2 separate regions of the Homo sapiens genome follow, and region 1 is linked to region 2. The links are contacts of gene promoters, found by promoter capture Hi-C in human tissues and cell types (Jung and others, 2019). All regions are on one chromosome and are shown on one strand. The core of a region is centred on a gene start or on the middle of the fragment in contact, and the rest is flanking DNA. Distances in the headings are between cores, read along the strand shown.

The links. Contacts are between HindIII fragments. The study calls those that stand out against the background at their distance.
Region 1: a fragment that was not itself captured here is called in contact with the fragment with the promoter of SUMO3 in region 2 in 2 of the 25 tissues and cell types used here (aorta and spleen).

What each region holds. Positions count from the first base shown.
Region 1 is chr21:44,854,434-44,861,074 of GRCh38, forward strand. It overlaps PTTG1IP (PTTG1 interacting protein), which reads right to left. Exons shown (of 6, transcript NM_004339.4): 4 at 1,760-1,931; 5 at 777-823. Among named protein-coding and RNA genes, the nearest start is that of PTTG1IP, 16 kb to the right of the region's middle. The HindIII fragment of the contact is 9,171 bases long and covers 1-6,641 here.
Region 2 is chr21:44,816,163-44,822,636 of GRCh38, forward strand. SUMO3 (small ubiquitin like modifier 3) reads right to left here and starts at 1,900. Exons shown (of 4, transcript NM_006936.3): 1 at 1,786-1,900. The coding sequence starts at 1,806. RefSeq lists silencers at 1,432-1,631, 1,812-2,391, 2,412-2,511. The HindIII fragment of the contact is 28,474 bases long and covers 1-6,474 here.

The sequences.
Region 1 (6,641 bases), core at 2,458-4,957, 40 kb after region 2:
GTCCATGACGCCACACAACCACAAACCCAGCGCGGGAGACGCCCATGACACCACACAACCACAAACCCAGCGCGGGAGACACTAGACTCTTTGCGGACTTTAAAATCATACAGAATCAACGAAGCACGGCTGGGTGGTGGTGTTCAGTGTTAAGCAGTGAACATCACGTGGTTTGGGGGAGTATAGATAACGTAATGTGTATTTCCAATTCACTCCAACTAAATAAAAGGTTTACACTTGGCAAATACATTCATTCTGGCTCCTTCAAAGCTCCTCTCCAAAATCTCTCCAGACACAACCAAACAAGAACAGAACGCCGAGGCTGGGCGAGAAGGAGCAGGGCCGGTGCTGGGGAGTGCTTGGAAGGAGCGCCTGCCACACTCAGAAGATGGCAACGAGCAACGCTCCCGAGGATGAGAGGGCCGCCCTGAAACTCACAGCACCTCGGCTACGCAGGCGTGCCCACAGGAAGCCAAACACGACGGCAGAACAGCTGCAGACTTCCAGCCCAGAAGTCTTGGGACTCGATAAGCAAACAGCTATCTGAGAAAACAGACTTCATGAAGACGACTGGCTGAGATAAAGATATTCTTAGGAGTGAGTTCACCACAGAACCGCTGGGGACAACCGCCAGCTGCTCCTCTCTGGAGAGACGTCCTTCTGTTCCGATGGGTGAACCCACAGCCCCATCTCAGGCCACACTGGCACTAACGAGGACCGAGACAGCGTGCCATCGCCTCCCAACCAGACAAAAAGGAGGCGTGACCAGTCCTTACCATATTTTTTTCTGATTTCATCATGTCTTGTCTTCATCTCTGCTCTCCTAAAACACAGAGGAACATTATGAGCACCAAACGACAGCGCACGGTGGTGTAACTGCTAGACACGCCCTTCCGTGTCCCTCAGTGGGGGCGCCAGGTTTCTTCTGGTGGCTTCCCTCCAGTTCCCAGAGTGAAACCAGGGTGAGGACAAGCTTGGTCATCAGGCCACATACCCACCAGGACAGGCAAGGTGACAACGAACCCAGTCTTCAAAGGCCGTTCCAATGTATTACTCTACTCTTTTCAATAAAAGCAATTCAAATGCCCAATACCGTGATTTTTAAAAAGCTTTTTTCATACAAAGAAAACACAGTAAAAATCATACACCAGGTTCTGAAGATGGTGAGGAAAATGCGATTGTCAGCTTTTACTTAGTAGCATGTGACTTCAAGGTGACTACATGGAAAATCTGTCCCGCTTCCACCCTCGCCCGCCGCCAACCTGACAGTTGGCCCCTCAGGTCCTCTCCTTTGCCAGGTGTGGATTACACCACCTCCTCCTGGGGTTGCCCCAGAGCCCCAGCAAGCACTCAGGAGAGTGCTGTGTCACCAGGGAAAGGGCGACAGGAGAGCTGACCCAGCCACAGTCAGACGCTGTCCCCTCTGAGCCTCAGCTTGCTCTTGGCAAATGCTGGGCCTGGACGAGCCGCCTTAGCAGCCGTCACACACCCGTGTCACCGCGCACAGACTCAGCCTTACTGCACCGATGGGAGGACACCGGGCGAGGAAGCCTATAGAAGCAAGGTTCGCAGCCACTGCTAGGTTCCCATCACAGTCTCTCGCTCTCTACCACGACCTAGAAGATCCCCTGGGCACTATACACATTCTTAATTTCTAAAAACTGAGGAAAACTCAGGATGTATCCATGTGATTTCCATGGCCTTGCAGATCTGAATCCCCTCGAAGTAACCTTCCCAGCGGGCATCACCACCACCTCACCGTTCCTCCTGCCGTATCCGCCTCTCCTCCCGCTCACGCATGGCCTTCTCCTCACTCCTGTCCGGCTTCCGGCTCCTCTTCCTCCTGCAGCAGCAGCAGCAGCAGATGGCAATGCCCAGGAGGAGGGTTCCCCCGACTACCGACATGGTGATGATCAGCGCCTCAAAGTTCACTGGAGATTCAAGCACCTGGAGTTAGGGCCGCCCCAGACACAGAACCCACCCAGCACAGCAGCCTTCCCTCGCCCCTGGGGAACAACCTCAGGACACAGGAGCATAAGGAGGAAAGCCGCCTCGGCCAGGCTGCTGGCTCCTGGCGTGTGGAGAGCCTGTGGCCCTGCCTCCACCCCACAGGGTCCCGCCCTCTCCAAGTCTCCTTTCAGCCACACGTTCCTATCTGTGACTTAGAATTTATTAACAATTTATAATATTAACCATAATGAACTGAAGTGACAGGGTAGTCTGTCTCAGCTGAGTTTGAAAAGGTATTTCAAGCCTGAGAAAAGTTAACTAACCAAAATTCCAAGCTACATACTCAGACTCTCGTAAGACATTCTAAACTCACAGAAATGGAGGTTAAGCCTGATGCAGCTTTCTTTTTTTTTATTTAAACCAAAGTCAAGAATATTACAATGATTTACAAGAGAAATAGACTCTCAGGGCACATACTGGCGGCCAGGTTCGAAAAGAATGACCGTGGAGGAGCGGACGAGACCACGGAACAAGACGGGATCATCTTCAAATCTGAGTGTTTTGAGGACCTTGGGGCTGAAGAACGGCTGGCTAATCGGTCCCAAACCCTGTTATGATTTCCTTAACCAGCCTTCAGACACACGTGCACATTTAAAACAGATCTTACTATCCTTTTAAACTTCTTTTGAAGATCTATACATTGAAATCAGCCAAGATTTTTCCATTCAGTTCAAACCAGAGGCAATTAAAAAATACCCTAAAACTACTTTTGCAAATGTGTTTTCAATCATGTAGTTCAAACAGCCTCCTTGGCTGGACACAGTGGCTCACACCTATAATCCCAGCACTTTGGGAGGCCAAATCGGGAGGATTGCTTGAGCCCAGGAGTTCAACACCCGCCCAGCCAACAAAGTGAGACCCAGCCCTGCCCATCTCTACAAAACTGTTTAACAAATTAACTGGGTGTGGTGCATGCACCTCTGGTCCCAGCGACATGGGAGGCTGAGGTGGGAGGATCGCTTGAGCTTGGGAGGTTGAGGCTGCAGTGAGCCGTGCCTACACTATTGCACTCCAGCCCGGGCAACACGGCAAGACACCATCTTGAAACAAACAAAAAACACCCAGCCAGCCTCCTGAAGATGGCTTTATAAGCAAACTCCCCTGGGCAGTAGATTACCGCATGATTCACTGTTTTTAACTACAGTTAATAGCTGTGCCACCACCACAGGTGACACCGTCTCACCTCCAGGGGCTGGGAGTTGAACACTTGCTGCATGCCTGGGCCCTGGCAAGGAGGCCGACGGCCAGGCCTCTGGGGCTCCCGCAGCCTCACCCCTCTGCTGCCCCGGACGCTGAGATCCGCATTTCTTAGTTTATTAAAATAGTTTGAAAATCAGGAATAGGAGGTTACATCTGATCAAATGCCTTTTGAGCTTTTAATCCTGTGTTTTTTCCTCCTCTGACCTGTTCTGGAAGCGTAGAATTGCAAAAATTATAGTAAGAGGGAGAACTACAGAGGGGACCTTCATTGGCAGAAGATGTCATTTTCTGACTGGAGAACTCCAATGAGATCAACAAGATGGCTGGCCTTAAAACATATCTACCCCTCAGATAGCTTTTCTGATTAGCAGCTAAAACTAGTTAAAAACAAACAGAAATCCTGTCACAATGGGAAACAAACTCTGGGCTCCTTTTGCTGATTCCATAGGGTAAAACCCATGAACTTGAACTTGAACCAAAGGATGTGGGAGAGGCCTGAAAGAGAGGCATCTTTGCCTCTGGACAAACGGCCAACGCTGTAGACATTTCATTTTCCTTCAAGTAAGCATGTTTATCAGGCCATTACAATTAAAGCTCCAAAATAATTTTGGCTAGAACTGGATAAAATGGTTCTAAGGTTACCTGTAAGAATAAACAAGGACCTGTGGTGCAAGACCTAAAACGGGTATCATGTGCGCCGCGGCATCTGGTGAAATCAGGAGGGCCCTGAGGGCCCGGCCACAACTGCTCCTCCCCACTCTGCTCCCGTGGGCAAGGCTGGACAAGGTCCCAGCTCAGACAGCCTCTTCCTCCTCCCGGCAGGGCCAGGCACACTTTCTGTTTCTCCCGGAGGAGCAGGTGTCAGTTCCCTCTCAGCCTCAGAATTAACCAAACAAGCCCATCGCACCCCACCCTCCTGTCACGAAATGGCTGCCTCCCCGAGCCCTGTTCCCCTGCGGGACCCTGCGTGGCGTGTGGTGCCCCCTCCCCACTGTGACTGTGACTAGTCACCTGCTGCCGCTCTCATGTGCAGGGCTGGGTGTTGTGTGTCCATCCACTTCTGCAGCCTAGCGTGGGGATGTCATTTCACAAGAGAATTGTCAAAAACACCCACCACTTGTAAAGGTGCTCAGCACGATCGGCTAGTCACTGCAGAAATGCAGGTGAGAAGCACAAGACACCACTACACACCCACTAGATGGACTGAACTTAGGGTGACTGGTTACCCTAAACATTGGGAAGGATGTGGAGCAACCAAGTCCCACATTGCCTGAGGGAGGCCAAACTGGTACAGCCACTCCAAAAACATTTGGCAGACGTACTAAGGCTAAACACAAATATGCTCCGTGACACAGCAACTCCACCCCTACACTCCTCCAGACGTGAGCGCCTGTGCCGGCACCAACACAACACCGCTCACAGCAGCACCAGAAGGACCCAGGCGTCCCTGAGTGGCAGCATGGCTGAACAGCTGTAGAACACTGCACGAGAAAGATAACTGGTGCAGGCAATTGACACGAATCTCGGGCACATGCTGAATAAAACATCCAATAAAGCACAGGATTTCCTCCACATAAAGGCGGGAACCAGTAACATTAATCTGTGGTGACGGGAAGTCCAGTCAGTGGCTCCCATGGGGGTCCTGACAGGAATTGGGCCTTCTGAAAGTCCTGGAAGTCCTACCTACTTTGCTGTGAGTGGTGATAACCTGTATACGTATGCAAAAATGCACTGAATATATGTACGCACACACGTGTGCATTATGTAGGCTATAAGCCGCGGTCCATGTAGGCACACACGTGTGCATTATGTAGGCTATAAACTGCGGTCCATGCAGGCACACATGTGTGCATTATGTAGGCTATAAAGTCCATGCAGAGAGAGACTTCAGATGTGTGCACTTCATGAGAAGCTACATGCCATTAAAAACACCTCCAGAACAGGTGTTCCAAAGGGCAAGGCTCCCCAGGTCCAGGAGCTGTGTCTTCAGAGTGGTCATTAAGAGAAGTTCCATGGAAGGGATGAGTTCACAAACACACATGCATCACACACAGTACACACATCACACATGAAGGTGCACACACACCACCACCACCCCCTGCCAGACATCCCACACTACAACCACCACCACCACACAAACTTTTGAATTCTCTAGGGCCTCAACACCAGCAACAAGTTGTTTCAGATGGAGGCTGATAGATTTTGAAATGGAAATCAATTAGAAGAGTGGTAAGTAAGACGTAAGTTGCAGAGGGATCCAAGATGCAAATAAACAAAAAGAATCATCAAAACACCTTAAGAAAATATTGCTTCTTTACAAAGTTTAGGAACCCTATGTATTACCCCAAAACCTGAAGCCTAAAAGATTAATAAATTCAACTACATAATAATGAGTTCTAGGTTACAAAACACACCACAAACTGATTTAAAAGGCAAACTACGGGGCTGGGCGCAGTGGCTCACGCCTGTAATCCCAGCACTTTGGGAGGCTGAGGTGGGCAGATCATGAGGTCAGGAGATCGAGACCATCCTGGCTAACACAGTGAAACCCCGTCTCTACTAAAAAATACAAGAAATTAGCCGGACGTGGTGGCGGGCACCTGTAGTCCCAGCTACTCAGGAGGCTGAGGCAGGAGAATGGCGTGAACCTGGGAGGCGGAGCTTGCAGTGAGCCAAGATAGTGCCATTGCACTCCAGCCCGTCTCAAAAATAAATAAATAAATAAATAAAGGCAAACTAGAAAACAACTTGAATCTCACAAGAGCTGATTTCCTTAATTTAAAAACGCCTCCAAAATCAAATATACAAAGATACGCACACAAAAAAAGAGGGCTGTCTACGCAAGCAGGGATTCTTAAGCTGGGAAAACTGGAGATTCTAGGGGAATTCACAGGTGAGTTTCAGGGGTGACACATGAACAAAACATACTGAGCAGAGAAGTCAAACACGTTGCCTTCAAACTCACCCTTTTCCCCACACCTTCTGTAACGTGGTGAGATAGAGCTCAGTGCTGGGGCTGACCACCTTGAAGGAGGTCCTCCAGGTTCCCCAGGGCTGCTTTCCCGGTCAGCAGATCACCCCTGGCTTCCCAACCTCTCCCTGGGAGTCACAGAGCTACTGGCAGCACATTTTCTAGCAACTTCTGCTAACTGAGCACATAATACTATTTTCTTTTTTTTTTGAGACAGTCTCGCTCTGTCGCCAGGCTGGAGTGCAGTGGCACGATCTCGGCTCACTGCAAACTCCGCCTCCCGGGTTCAAGCAATTCTCCTGTCTCAGCCTCCCAAGTAGCTGGGATTACAAGTGCATGCCACCACGCCCACCTAATTTTTGTATTTTTAATAGAGACGGGGCTTCACCATGTTAGCCAGGATGGTCTCAATCTCCTGACCTCTTGATCCACCCGCCTCCGCCTCCCAAAGTGCTGGGAT
Region 2 (6,474 bases), core at 650-3,149:
AAGTGTAAATACTGCTGAGAAAATTAATATCATATGTATTTTATTACATTTACTCTTCATTAAGAGGAAGCCACCTACAAAAACATAAAGGACATTTATATTTGACCTAGTTTTAACAAGTATTTAAATATTCAAACAACCCCAGAGTGGGAGAACTTTGACTTCACTGGAGTCAAAATGTAAAAAGCAAAGGTCACCCCAAATGCCATCTGGATAGGGCAGGTTTCCCTGGAGTCTGACCACAGCAAGCAGAGTGCAGACTTCCATAGAGGCCGCGACCATGGTTCCTGACGGTTCCATCCCACTTCCCGCCAGTGTCTGGCACTGAGCCTCCACCCTCATCTGTAAAGGGAGGGTGGTCACCTCCAGGACCAGGCCAGTATCAGAGACAGCCTCTTTACAGAGCCTTCAGCTCTAGTCATCTTCCACTGGGATGTAACATAGAGGCCGACAGTGCACACCAAGGGCTTCGGAAAGGTTCTCTTTTTATGAACACTGGAGAATGCGACTACAGACCCTCCCGAGAAGGAATGGCCAGTGCACCTGAATGCAGGGTGCATACCCCAGGACTGAGACTGGAGGGAGGCACACCCCAGCATGGCAATGGGGGAGACTAAAGCCCACCCAAGGCTGGATAAGGAGGGGTGGGCGCGCATGGTGGGGGAGGCGCAATGCAGAGAAGTGGGCGCACACCGTGGGGCGTGATAGGGAGGGGTGGGCACACACTATAGGGGGCGTGATGGGGAGGGGTGGGCGCACATCGTGGAGGGGGTGATGGGGAGGGGTGGACGCACACTGGGGGTGTGATGGAAAGGGGGACGCGATGGATAGGGGTGGGCGCACACTGGGGGACGCGACGGGGAGGGGTGAGCACACACTGGGGGTGTGATGGAGAGGGCGACGCAATAGGGAGGGGTGGGCGCACACCAGGGACGCGATGATGGGGACGGGTGGGCGCACACCAGGTGGCATGATGGGGAGGAGTGGGTACACACCATGGGGGGCGTGATGGGGAGGCGTGGGCGTACACCGGGGGGCGCGATGGGGAGGGGTGGGCGCACACCGGGGGACGCGATGGAGGCGGTGGGTGCACACGGGGCGCGATGGGTGGGAGTAGGTGCACACTGAGGGCACGATTGGGGAGACACGAAGGAGAGGGGTGGGCGCACACTGGGGGACGCGATGGCCGGGACACGATGCGGAGAAGTGGGTGAATACCGGGGTCGCGATGGGCGCCCTGGAAGGACGGCAGTGCTGCTCACAGGGGCCAGGCCCCTCAGAGCGCGCCCCTTGGGGGTAACCCCAGACGCTTGTTCCCGAGCCGACTCCGTGCACTCGACACAGGATCCCGCACCCAGGGCGATGCCGGGGGAGAGGGCGACCCCAACCAGCAATGACTCAGGAGAGGAGCACGCAAAGACGCTTCGGGGACACTGCTGGGGCGGGATCCGAGGGCGCCGCGCTCTGCAGGAGCAGCAGCGCGGGGCCCGACACCGGGCGCTCAAGGAGGCGCTGGGCGCGCGCCTTCCCAGCTGGGGAGGAGACGGGCGTGGAGCGGAGGCGTGGCCAGGCCCGGAGGGGGCGGAGCTCGCGGCACAGCGCGCTTCGCGGGGGCAGAGGGGGCGCACCTTGGGCGGGCCCACTTAGGGGCGGGGCTCTAGAGGGCGGGGAGGGGCGGAGCCTGTCAGGGGCGGGACGCGGGGCGGAGTCGGGGTGGGGGCGGAGCCGGGCTGGGGGCGGGACGCCCGCGATAGACGCGCGTGCAGGCGGGGTCGCCGCGCTTACCTTGGGCTTCTCCTCGGACATGGCTGCGCGAGCGGCGCGGGGAGGCGGCGCGGGGGAAGCAGCGCGGAGCGGGCGAGTCACGCTCTCGGCCCCGCCGCTCTCCCGCCGCAACTGTGCGCGGGGCCGCGCTTTATCCCCCAAATCCCGGCGCACCCGTTGGCCGGCACGGGGGTCACGTGGCTGCGCGCGTTCACGAGGCGCGCTCCCCGGGGCGTCGGGCGCGCGCAGGCCGGGCCGCGGCTCTGGGCGGTTGGAGATGCGTCACGGGGCGGGTCCCGCGCGACCCCGTCGGGCGCGGAAGCCCTAGGGCGCTGTGGGGCGCGGGCCAGGAGCGTTTACGGGGAGCCCGGGCCCTGGGGACCCTTGCCCGCCTCCCCGCGTCGCCCGGGCCCCGACTCCTTTCCTGGGGGCCGCGTTCCTGGGGCGCCGGGAAGTGAGGCCGGGGCCGCCGCCCATGGCCGCAGGGACCTGGGGCGGAGGAGGGAGGACGCTGGGGGTGACGTTCCCTCTCAGGAGCCGCGGACAGAGCGGAGAAGGCGGCCCGCGGGGTCCCGTCCGCGGGGGCCGCGCGAATCGGGCCAGCACCCTAGACGATTGGGGGCGCCACCCGCCTCCCTGCCGCCGCGGTTTCCTGTCAGCCCCAGGCCGGGCTCCTTTGGCCAACGCTCCTACGGGGCTGCCCCGGGCCCTCCACACCCGTCCTCAAGAAGACCCGTTTTACCTGTGAAGAAACTGAGGCACTGGGAGGTCAAACCACCCCCAGGTCAGCGCTGGTGAGCGGCGCCGAGCTTGGCCAGGCCGCCACGTCGGCGAGCGCGGGCAAACCCAGGCTGGACGCCGCCAGTGCCGGCGGAACGGGGACCTCGTGGACGCGGGAAACGCGCTGGGCCGGCAGGACGGCCTCCCCGGACTTGCGGGCGCCATTCCTGGGGTGCCTGGCCCGCCCCGGCCTCCATGTCTGTGATCCCAGGGCCTCGGATGGAACGGACCTGAGGGCGGACACCCCTGCGTCCCTCAGGAGTGCCCGGGTGGTGCCAGCCGGGGCGTGGCGGAGGTCTCATCTGATGGTGAGCCCGGCCGAAGGCGGGGGAGGCCGCACTTCAGGCTCAGCTGGGAAATGGCAGGGCCTGGATTTGAACCTAAGCGTCTGAGCCGTTTCTGTCCTGCCTGGGAAAGGCTCAGCCAACTGAGCAACGTCGCAAAGCCATGGAGACAAGTCTTCATGGACCATAACTTCACAAACCGTCTTCTACTCAAAAATTCACTTTCTTGGCTAGAGCCCCCACTTAGGAGGGGGAAGGCTGCTGAAGTCTTTCGGGGAGAGGGTCTGAGAGTCAGCCCCAGTCCCAGGCAGGTCATAAGGTGTGGTCCCTTCCTTCTGGAACCTGGAGCCCAGGGCCTCAGCAGAGGATGTGGAGGTGGGTGGCCAGCTCAGACGGTCCTGGGAGGGGGCTCCGCAACCAGCCCCTTCCGAGGGGACGTGGCGCCTCAGAGCCCACAGATTGCTGGCCCTGGAAGTGCCCTAGGGCAGGCAGGGTTCAGAGAGTTATCGACTCCAAGACACCGTTAATCATAAAACAACACGACCGTAGGTAGCACAGACACACTAAACTCCGGCAGGCTGTGGATGACGGCAGCCCGCTTCAGTGTTGTGGAAGTGAGAAACACGCAGCTTAGAAATCATGAGACACAGAACCCAAATGTGTTACCGCTCGAAATTACGCCAGTTGCTGTGTCACGAAGTGATGCGTGACTACAGTCATGGATAAGGGAAAAAGAGGCTCAGATGACATTAGGTTTTAAAAAGCCAGGCTATAAGACAATGGTGGTCTGAATTCAATTCATGCTGTGTCTGTCTCCCACACTGTGACCTGCCCCGAATCCTTCATGTGACAGCAAAGATGCAAAAAGGCTCTGTCGCAGCTGTGGGGACACAAAGGACACCGCTGGTGGACCGAACGCCAAGAGGTTTCTGAAGGACACAGCCAAAGGGGATCGAATGGACGGAGGAACCAGAGCTCAGGAAAAACCGTGGCCTACCACGAGCACAGGGTAAAGAACCCAAATGGCCAGAGCCCCTCCGGAGGGTCGCCACACCTGGCGATGGTCCCAACAAGAAGACTCATGAGAAGGCAGGGAACTGGCAAATGAGTAACAGCATTGCTGACATGAAAGCTCGACCCACATGTGACTAGGAGAGGGGTCCTGGCTGAGGACGCAAAGAACTGCGAGACAAAGTCACAGGACTCTCCCATGATGGAGAAGTTAAGAGAGGAAAGGTCAGGGCTGGGCTGGGTGGCTCATGCCTGTAATCCCAGCACTTTGGGATGCTGAGGCTGGTGGATTACAAGGTCAGGAGTTCGAGACCAGCCTGGTCAACATGGTGAAACCCCGTCTCCACAAAAAAATTAGCCGGGCCTGGTGGCGCATGCCTGTAATCCCAGCTGCTTGGGAGGCTGAGGCAGGAGAATCGCTTAAACCCAGGAGGCAGAGGTTGCAGTGAGCTAAGATCGTGCCGCTGCACTCCAGCCTGGGCAACAGGGTGAGACTCCATTTCAAAAAAAAAGAAAAGAGAGAGGGAAGGTTGGAAGGCCGAGACACCGGGCATCAGTACAGGAAGGGCTACGTCCACCTGACAGGAGCTGCAGGAGAAGGTGGAAAAAAGGAAACCAGGACAAAATCAAAGACAGAATTGGAGAAAATATCTCTGAGGCCAGGCACGGTGGCTCACGCTTGTAATCCCAGCACTTTGGGAGGCTGAGGCAGGCGGATCACCTGAGGTCAGGAGTTTGAGACCAGCCTGAGCAACATGGTGAAACCCCATCTCTACTAAAAATACAAGAATTAGCTGAGTGTGGTTGTGTGTGCCTGTAATTCTGGCTCCTTGGAAGCCTGAGGCTGGAGAATCAGCTTGAACTCAGGAGGCAGAAGCTGCAGTGAGCCAAGGTCGCACCACTGCACTCCAGCCTGGGCAACAGGGCAAGACCCTATCTCAAAGAAAAAGTAAAAATAAGAAATTTCTCTGAACTAAAGAAATATTTGACTCCATAAATGGAAAGGGCCCCTGAGTATCCAATGGCTGAGTGAGAAGACTGACACAGATGCTTGGCATGTGAGGAGAAATCCCTGAGGCGTTCAGAGACGTTTCTACTTACAGTTAGGGAGGACTGGTTGCCTCAGACAAACCCAACAAAAATAGCCCAAAAATCAGTATAAAATATTCTTTAAATCTGTTTAAGGCTATCAGCTACCAAAAGAAGTCTTTCTGTGAGGGGCAAAGACCTTCCCCCACCTCAAAAAGAAAAGGGAAGAGTTTTTTTCCTTTGAGGCACTTGGTGATTAGTATCCTGTGTTAGCCTAGACTTCCATAAAAACATACAGACCGGGGGCCGGACGCGGTGGCTCACGCCGGTAATCCCAGCACTTTGAGAGGCTGAGCCAGGCAGATCACCTGAGGTCAGGAGTTTGAGACCAGCCTGAACAACATGGAGGAACCCCATCTCTACTAAAAATACAAAATCAGCCGGGCATGGTGGCGCATGCCTGTAATCCCAGCTACTCGGGAGGCTGAGGCAGGAGAATCGCTTGAACCTGGGAGGCGGAGGTTGTGGTGAGCCAAGATAGCACCATTGCACTGCAGCCTGGGCAACAAGAGTGAAACTCTGTCTCAAAAAAAAATAAATAAATAATACAGACTGGGCAGCTTAAACCATTGATAGTTATTTCCCAGCCTCCAGACAGTTCTAGAGACTGGAAGCCCAAAATCAGTGAGCCATCAGGGTTGGTGTCCGGTCAAGCCTCTCCTCCCAACTTGTATGCAGCCAACTTGGCGTGTTCTCACAATGGCCTTTCTGCTGTGTCTGCAGAGAGGGAGAGATCTCTGGTGTATCTTCCTCCTTTTGCAAAGACACCAGTCCTCTGGGATTAGGGCCCCACCCTTATCACCTCAGTTAACCTTAATCACCTCTTTAAAGGTTCTGTCTCCAAATGAAATCACATTGGAGGTCAGGGCTTCAACATGTGAATGCTGGGGGGACACAATTCAGTCTCACATATGCAGTGGAAAGAAGTTGACACACTGAGCAGAGCTTTTGCATCTCCTAGGGTTGGGGAGACAATAATTGGTGACAGCCCACAAGATAGGGAGACTCTGATGAGTGACCCAGACCTTCAGCTGAGAGCACTGAGGGCTGCAATAGGGGAGGAAGGCTGAGGGGTGAGTAGATCGTCCCTCTCAAAGTCTGAAACCAAGCTTCCAAAGGGCTGACTCCCAGACTAAGTTGATCTGCTCTCTTTCCCACAGCCAGCCCAAAGCAAAAGGAAATATGCAGAGGTAAATAGCATCATCCAGGGCCTCAAATTAACTAAAATATTTCCATATACAATATCCAGATTTAAAGTTTACAAAGAAAACCAGGAGACAAATGATCCAAAACCAAAAAATATATATATAAATAAAGTAGGAATAATTCCATGGGATTATCATGTCAACAGGATATTGACATTATCATACACTTTAAGGTAATGTGATTAATATGTTCAAGAAAATAGATTATGAGATGGAAATGTTCAGCAGAGAAGTGGGGTATATAAAAAACAATTTAATGGAAATTAAAAAAACAATAGCTGAAGTTATAAATTCAATGGATGGGTTTGAAACAGATTAGACACAGTGAAAGAGATGATTAA